Linked DNA regions of Homo sapiens: region 2 is linked to region 1. The links are contacts of gene promoters, found by promoter capture Hi-C in human tissues and cell types (Jung and others, 2019). All regions are on one chromosome and are shown on one strand. The core of a region is centred on a gene start or on the middle of the fragment in contact, and the rest is flanking DNA. Distances in the headings are between cores, read along the strand shown.

Region 1 (3,734 bases), core at 4-2,503:
CCCCACCCTACCCCATCACCCGCCCCTAAGGAGCTTTGAAAAGATCTTTTCTTCCTATTCTAGAACCAATTCCAGCTTCCACACCTCCCACCTTGAGAAGGAATGCATTAGATGAACCAAGACTTCTGCCTATATACATGGGCTGCTACAGTTGGCCACCCCGGCAGTCTGCGGCCTCCCAAGCGGGGGCCTGGGTCTTAATCCTTACTTCTCTCTAAGCTGCATGAAGGGTGCCCCCATTCCATCCCTCTTCACTTCTCCCCAGCATAGCGCCTCCATAAATGTTTGTGAACTGGATGAATGACTGTTGAGCGCTTGGTATGATGAGCTGCTTACAATAGGTGCTCAACCAATCTTTGTCCAATCTATGAATGAATGAATGAACTTCACCCTTTTCCTTCCATACCTCCGGGCTGAGCCTCTCTCCCACATGGAAACCCTAAGGCTGAGACCACCACCTTCCTACCAGTTCCTGGGGGTGCCCAGTGAACTGTCTCAGTATCCCCAGTGCCTAGCACACAGTAGGCGCTCAATAAACGCTTGCTGTGTTCATAATGAATGACTCAATCAGGCCCACGGTGGGGGTGAAGGGGGGCTCCATACTGTGCCTAAGGATACAGTGAATGAGCAAGTGACACACACTCCCCCACCCCAATCCCTAACTCTCCTTCCTCCCAGGATCGGGGGAGAAACCTCGGCCCACAGCCGGGATGCGCCCCCGCCGGGGTCACCGCGGCGGCGAACGTCCCGGACTTCGCATCCCGGTGACCCCTTGGGATGAACCGAAGCCGGACCCGCACCTTGGCCGTAACAAGCGCGCTCCACGCCGCCACGCACCAGCGGTGACTCCCGAGTCCTCTGTCGCCCTGGCCTCCCCGCAGGCGGGTTTCGAGGCCCCCGCAGGGAGTTCAGGGCCACGGCCACGTGCAGCCGCCCCCGAGCCCGAGTTTGCAGGCTCGGGGTCCGGTTCGCGCTTCGGTGGCGCCCGGCGAGGCTGCAGCGCGCAAAGTTCCCACCTCAAGTTCCCGTCGCGGCGTCCCCGCCTCGGAGTTGGCCCGGCCGCGGCTTCCGTTCCCCCCGGCTGCCCACGGGTCCGGGGCGAGGACGCGAGAGGGGCCTGGAAGTCGCCCGGGGAGCCCGCTCTGCCTCCCGGAGCCGCCGCCAAACTTCGGTCCCGGGGCCCGGCTCAGCTCCCGCCCTCGGAGCCACGGCCGCCCCGTCTCTGCCTCCCGGTCCCCGCCGGGCTCCGAGTGCGCCGGGAGCGCGGCGCAGCAGCCGCCGAGGGAGGGAGCGAGGCAGGAGGCGGGACGGAGGGAGGGGACTGAGCGCGGGGCGGGGAGAAGGGGCGGGCAGCCGAAAGCGCAGCGCCTGGCCTCGCCTCGCTTCGGGACAGTGGCAGCGGCGCCACCGTCACGGGGCGTCCAGGCGCCCAATCGGGACCCCGCACCTTGGATCCGGGGGCCCTGGCGCGCCTGCTGGATTGCGCTCCTCGCGGCCAGTTCCTGAGCCCGCGTCCGGGACTGCTCGCGCTACGCCCTCCCTCCCGTTGCCTTCTTCCCCGTCTGCTCTCCCAGGAGCGACCACCCTGCGGCCCCTTCGCCTGCACGCGACAGCCTTCAAGGTCCCCGCGCTCCGCTGCCCTGGAGCTTCACGCACCAGGCGGCGCGGCAGCCTCCTAGGGTCGCGCGCCCTGTCAGCTTTCCCCGCGGTGCAAGTGCTCCGGTGGTCCCGGGTCCGCGCCCCTAGCAGCACCGCCCCAGGGTCTACATGTGCTAGATATTAAAACCCCACTCTCCGCTGCCCCGGGGCCGCGCTCCACGCGCTTACACATCCTGGGAACCACATGCGCCATGTCTCCTGCCTTTCCCTGGAAGTCCTGGAAGTCCAAGTGCACTGCTGCCTCTGGGTCCCTCGCCCCCCTACCCCGGGCAAATACTGCATCCTTGAGGCCCTCCACGCGCTGCTGCCCTGGAGCCGAACGCTCCAAGCAAGCTTCCACATCCTGGGGGCCATATATCGCGCGCCTTTTCTCGACCTCCTAGACCAATGTTGCCCTTGGGCCCTTCCTGCCACCGCCACCCAGGGACTGCCAGCATCTTGCTGTGCCAAATTCCTAGGGCCAGTACGTACCGTGCCAGGTGTTTTCCCTTCCAGTCCCGCGGGGCCGAGGCCCCAGAGCCCTCCCGGGCTAGCAGAGCCGCACTTCGTCGTCCACTCCCCTGGCCGGTGCAGGGCACTTGGACCAGGTCCTGGGGTCTTGCTCCCAGTGTGGCCGCCTAGCCTCGGAGTTGGTAGGATGCTGCACAGATGCTGGAGGTTGGGTTGGAGGGATCTATTGGGTTGGAGGAATCTACTGAGTTGGAGGGACCTATTGGTTTGGAGGGATCTGTGCTGCTGGCAGGGCTGGCCTCTTAGGGTGGCTTGCCTTGCACTCCGTTCCTCTTCTCCTTTCTGTCTCTTGCACTCCGTTCCTCTTCTCCTTTCTGTCTCTTGCACTCCGTTCCTCTTTTCCTTTCTGTCTCTACTGCCTTTGCCTATCATCAGAGAACCAAGAAAGGACATGAAGAAACCCTGCTGCCGACCAGCCTGAGGCCTTCTGCTTGAGTGGGGCTCGGGTTGGGGAGTCGTGGGTGCTCATTAAGTGGGTTAGGGTTAACCCTAAGAAATGAGCGCAGGGCACACTAGCCTGCGCGGCAGTCCCAGCCGGGTGGAGCATAGGAGTTCCAGGTTATAGTGCACTATGATGGCACCACTGCAATCCAGCCTGCGTGACTGAGCGAGATCCAGCCTCTAAAACAACAAGAATAAAAACACTGGCTTACTGGTGAGGTGGAGGCCTGGACAGACAAGGATCTGCCTAAGGACCTGTTTCCAAGAGCTCACCTTCTACTGGGGGCTTGGCAGAATTGGGAAACTGCTGAAATACGTGATTGCAGAATGAAGCCAGAGAGGCCACTTTAGATAGAATAATGGGGGAGGGCTCCTGTGGAGGTGATGGTTACATGGAGCCCTGAGCCAGAAGGAGCCCATCTGGCAAGATGGGAAGAGAGCTTTCTAGGTGGACAGAACATCAAAGGCACTGGCCTTCAAGCAGGAGAGAAGGAGGCATGTCTGAGAAACATCAAAGAGACCAACCAGCAGTGTGGGGGAGGGGCCTGAGTGGGGTGGGGTGGGCTTTTGTTGTCAGAGGGTCCCTGGATTACATATTGAGAAACACTCCTCTTGTGGTGGATCAGGCTTCTGCCTTCCTTTCCCATCTGAAATTTTTTTTTTTTTTTTTTTTTTTGAGACATAGTCTCTCTGTGTCTCCCAGGCTGGAGTGCAGTGGTGTGATCTCAGCTCACTGCAACTTCCATCCCCCTGGGTTCAAGCGATTCTCCTGCCTCAGCCTCCTGAGTAGCTGGGACTACAGGTGTGTGCCACCATGCCCAGCTAATTTTTGTATTTTTAGTAGAGACGGAGTCTCACCATGTTAGCCAGGCTAGTTTTGAACTCGCAACCTCAAGTGATCCGCCAGCCTCAGCCTCCCAAAATGCTGGAATTACAGGCGTGAGCCACTGCACCCAGCCAGAAAATTGCTCTCTATCTTGTTTTTGAGACAGGGTCTGACTCTGTCACCCGCTGGAGTGCAGTGGTGCAATCATAGCTCACTGTAACCTCTAACTCCTGGGCTCTAGGGATCCTCCTGCCTCAGACTTCTGAGTAGCTGGGACTACCACACACCACCATGCACC
Region 2 (3,522 bases), core at 708-3,207, 42 kb after region 1:
GCCTCCATCAGTTTTGGGGCACTTCCTTACATTCTGGCACAAGGTGTTGCCCAGAAATGGAATCAATTATGTCTCCTTTTAAGGGGTGCATAGTATTTAGAAACCCAGATCTGGGTGCTGGGTAAGCTTTCATGACATTGGAGTGTCATTACTTTTAGTTCTTCTGGATGGAGAGCCAGGGTATATGTCTGTTTAAACTATGACCTCATAGTGAGACCACTATTTGTTTCTGAGTAACACTGAGTTTCTGTTCATTTTCTTTTTTCTTTTTTTTTTTTTTTGAGACGGAATCTCGCTCTGTCACCCAGGCTGGAGTGCAGTGGCACGATCTTGGCTCACTGCAAGCTCCGCCTCCTGGGTTCATGCCATTCTCTTGCCTCAGCCTCCTGAGTAGCTGGGATTACAGGTGCCCGCCACCATGCCCGGCTAATTTTTTTTTGTATTTTTTAGTAGAGACGGGGTTTCACCGTGTTAGCCAGGATGGTCTCGATCTCCTGACCTTGTGATCCACCCGCCTCGGCCTCCCAAAGTGCTGGGATTACAGGCGTGAGCCACCGCGCCCAGCCAGAGTTTCTGTTCATTTTCTAAGAATCATTTTTTTCCCCTTCATTCTTCAGATTGGGTAATTCTTGCCCATCTCCCCCATTCCATATTTATATCTTCATTCACCCACAGTGGAAATCCTCGTTTTAGTAAAATTAGTATATTGACTCATTTGTTCTATCATGCAACACACAAGATACTTCCAGAATTACTGTACTGTTACCACTATCAACAATAAATCTACTAAATCAAGTTTAGCAACTATACGTGTGTATATATATAAAGGTATATATATAGGTTTTTTTATATGCATATACACACACACACACATTCCTTACCATTATCTTGGTGTGTCCTCCACCTAGTTCTCCACCCCAAAGATCTAGAAGTAAGCTTTAGTTACTTGAATCAATTATTTTCCCTGTGGAGTACATTATTTATATTTGCTGTACTGTTAGAATTATTTGTTTCTGCTTGCATTCAATTCTAGGAATAGCTTCTTTCTACCCCTTTTGATATAATTTACATGGTTCAAAAGCAAAACTACATAAAAATATGCTTGGAGAAGTCTCCCTCCCATCTTTTTCCCTTTCACCCTATTCTTATCCATACACTATAGCAAATAATTTCATTAGTTTCTGGTGTGGAGGTACCATATTTCATTCAATCAGTCTGTCACGGATGGACATTTAGATTGCTTCCTGTCTTTTGTTATTATCAATGCTGCTGCAATGAATAATCTGTGTATATCCTTTTTTCATAATTGTTTAGCAATTGATATGCAGGATAATCTGCTAAAAGTTGGATTGGTGGGTCAAAGAGTAAATACGTATGTGATTTTGATAGATCTGGCCAAATTTCCCTCCTTAGGGATTAACCCATTATGCACTCCTACCAACAATGTGTGAAGAGTCTTTTTCCCCACTGCCTGGTCAGCAGAGTTGGGTGGTAAGCTTCTTTTTTTTTTTTTTTTTTTTTTTTTTGACATGGAGTCTCACTCTGTCCCTCAGGCTGGTGTGCAATGGCATGATCTCGGCTCACTACAACCTCCGCCTCCCAGGATCAAATGATTCTCCTGCCTCAGCCTCCTAAGTAGCTGGGACTACAGGCATGTGCCACCACACCCGGCTAATTTTTTTGTATTTTTAGTAAAGAAAGGGTTTCAGCATGTTGGTCAGGCTGGTCTTGAACTCCTGACCTCAAATGATCCGCCCGCTTCAGCTTCTAAATTGCTGGGATTATAGGCATGAGCCACCGTGCCTGGCCAGTGGCAAGCTTTTGAATTTGCCAATATGATAAAGGAGAAATGATATATCAGGGTAGTTTTTTTTTAAACATTTGTGTTCAGGGGTACATGTAAAGGTTTGTTACATAGGTGAGCTCATGTCACATCACGAGGGTTTGTTGTACAGATTATTTCATCACCCCAGTACTAAGCCTAGTACCCAATAGTTATTTTTTCTAATCCTCTCCCTCCTCCCACCCTCCACCCTCCAGTAAACCCCAGTGTCTGCTGTTTTCTTTTTTTGTGTTCATAAGTTCTTACCATTCAGCTCCCACTTACAAGTGAGAACAAGTGGTATTGGTTTTCTGTTCTTGTGTTAGTTTGCTAAAGCTAATGGCCTCCAGCTTCATTCATGTTCCTGGAAAAGATATGATCTCGTTCTTTTTTATGGCTGCATAGTATTCCATGGTGTATATGTACCACGTTTTCTTTATTCAATCTGTCATTGGTGGGCATTTAGGTTGCTTCCACGTCTTTGCTTTGTGAATAGTGCTGCAGTGAACATTCGTGTGCATGTGTCTTTATGGTAGAATGATTTATACTCCTTTGAGTATATACTCAGTAATGGGATTCCTGGGTCAAATAGTAGTTCATATCCAGGTAGTTTTAATTTTCATTTCTTTTCTTATGAATGATGTTCAGCATCTTTCCTATGTTTAAGTACCATTTATCAATTTTTCTAATATGTTTTTGGTCTTTTCCCCCCTCTATTTTTTTTTTTTTTTTTTGGAGATGGAGTCTCACTCTGCTGTCCAGGCTGGAGTGCAGTGGCACAATCTTGGCTCACTGCAACCTCCACCTCCCTGGTTCAAGCAATTCCCCTGCCTCAGCCTCCCAAGTAGCTGGGATTACAGGCGCATGCCACCATGCCCAGCTAATTGTTTTTGTATTTTTAGTAGAGACAGGGTTTCACCATGTTGGCTCGACTGGTCTCGAACTCCTGACCTCAGGCAATCTGCCCACCTTGGCCTCCCAAAGTGCTGGGATTACAGACGTGAGCCACTGCGCCCAGCCTCTCGCCTCTATTTTTGAGGGTTTTTTATAAAGTAGAGAGATTAGCCTGTATCTATATGTAAGTATACATATAGATACAGATGCATCCCGCTCACTCTCTTTATCTATGTGTAATATATTATTAGCTAGAAAATTAATTGCAAATACTTTCTCCTGTTTTCTACTTGTCTTCTGAGTTTGCTTAACTTTGTTAATGTAGTCATAATCCGTCATTTTAATTCATGGTTTTGTAGTTTCGAAACTCTGGAGTCAGTTTTGAGATTTCTTTCTTTTGCATGCCTATAGTCAACTAATTACCAAGATCTGATGTTTTCTTTTTCGTAATATTTCTTGAATGTGAGGTTTTTCTTTCCACAGATTCATGGCTAACATCCTGGCCATTCTGCCCACATTGCTATGAGTTTCATTCTCCTGGTTCCAGGTTTTTTGACCCTTTGCTACCCGAATGATCTTCTTAGTCCTGTTAATATTGTCCTGCAAGTTTCTGAGGTTCTGTTTTTTCTTTTTTTCTTTTTTTGAGACAGGGTTTCTCTCTGACACCTAGGCTGAAGTGCAGTGGCCCGATCTTGGCTCACTGCAACCTCTGCCTCCCAAGCTCAAGCAATCCTCCCACCTGAGCCTCCTGAGTAGGTGGGAGTACAGGCATGTGCTACCACGCCTGGATAATTTTTGTATTTTTT

What was found. Contacts are between HindIII fragments. The study calls those that stand out against the background at their distance.
Region 2: a fragment that was not itself captured here is called in contact with the fragment with the promoter of KCNG1 in region 1 in 10 of the 25 tissues and cell types used here (H1 embryonic stem cells, IMR-90 fibroblasts, bladder and 7 more).

Annotation. Positions count from the first base shown.
Region 1 is chr20:51,021,854-51,025,587 of GRCh38, forward strand. KCNG1 (potassium voltage-gated channel modifier subfamily G member 1) reads right to left here and starts at 1,254. Exons shown (of 3, transcript NM_002237.4): 1 at 1,017-1,254. RefSeq lists a silencer at 1,183-1,352. The HindIII fragment of the contact is 10,697 bases long and covers 1-3,388 here.
Region 2 is chr20:51,063,605-51,067,126 of GRCh38, forward strand. No RefSeq gene overlaps it. Among named protein-coding and RNA genes, the nearest start is that of KCNG1, 42 kb to the left of the region's middle. The HindIII fragment of the contact is 5,903 bases long and covers 1-3,522 here.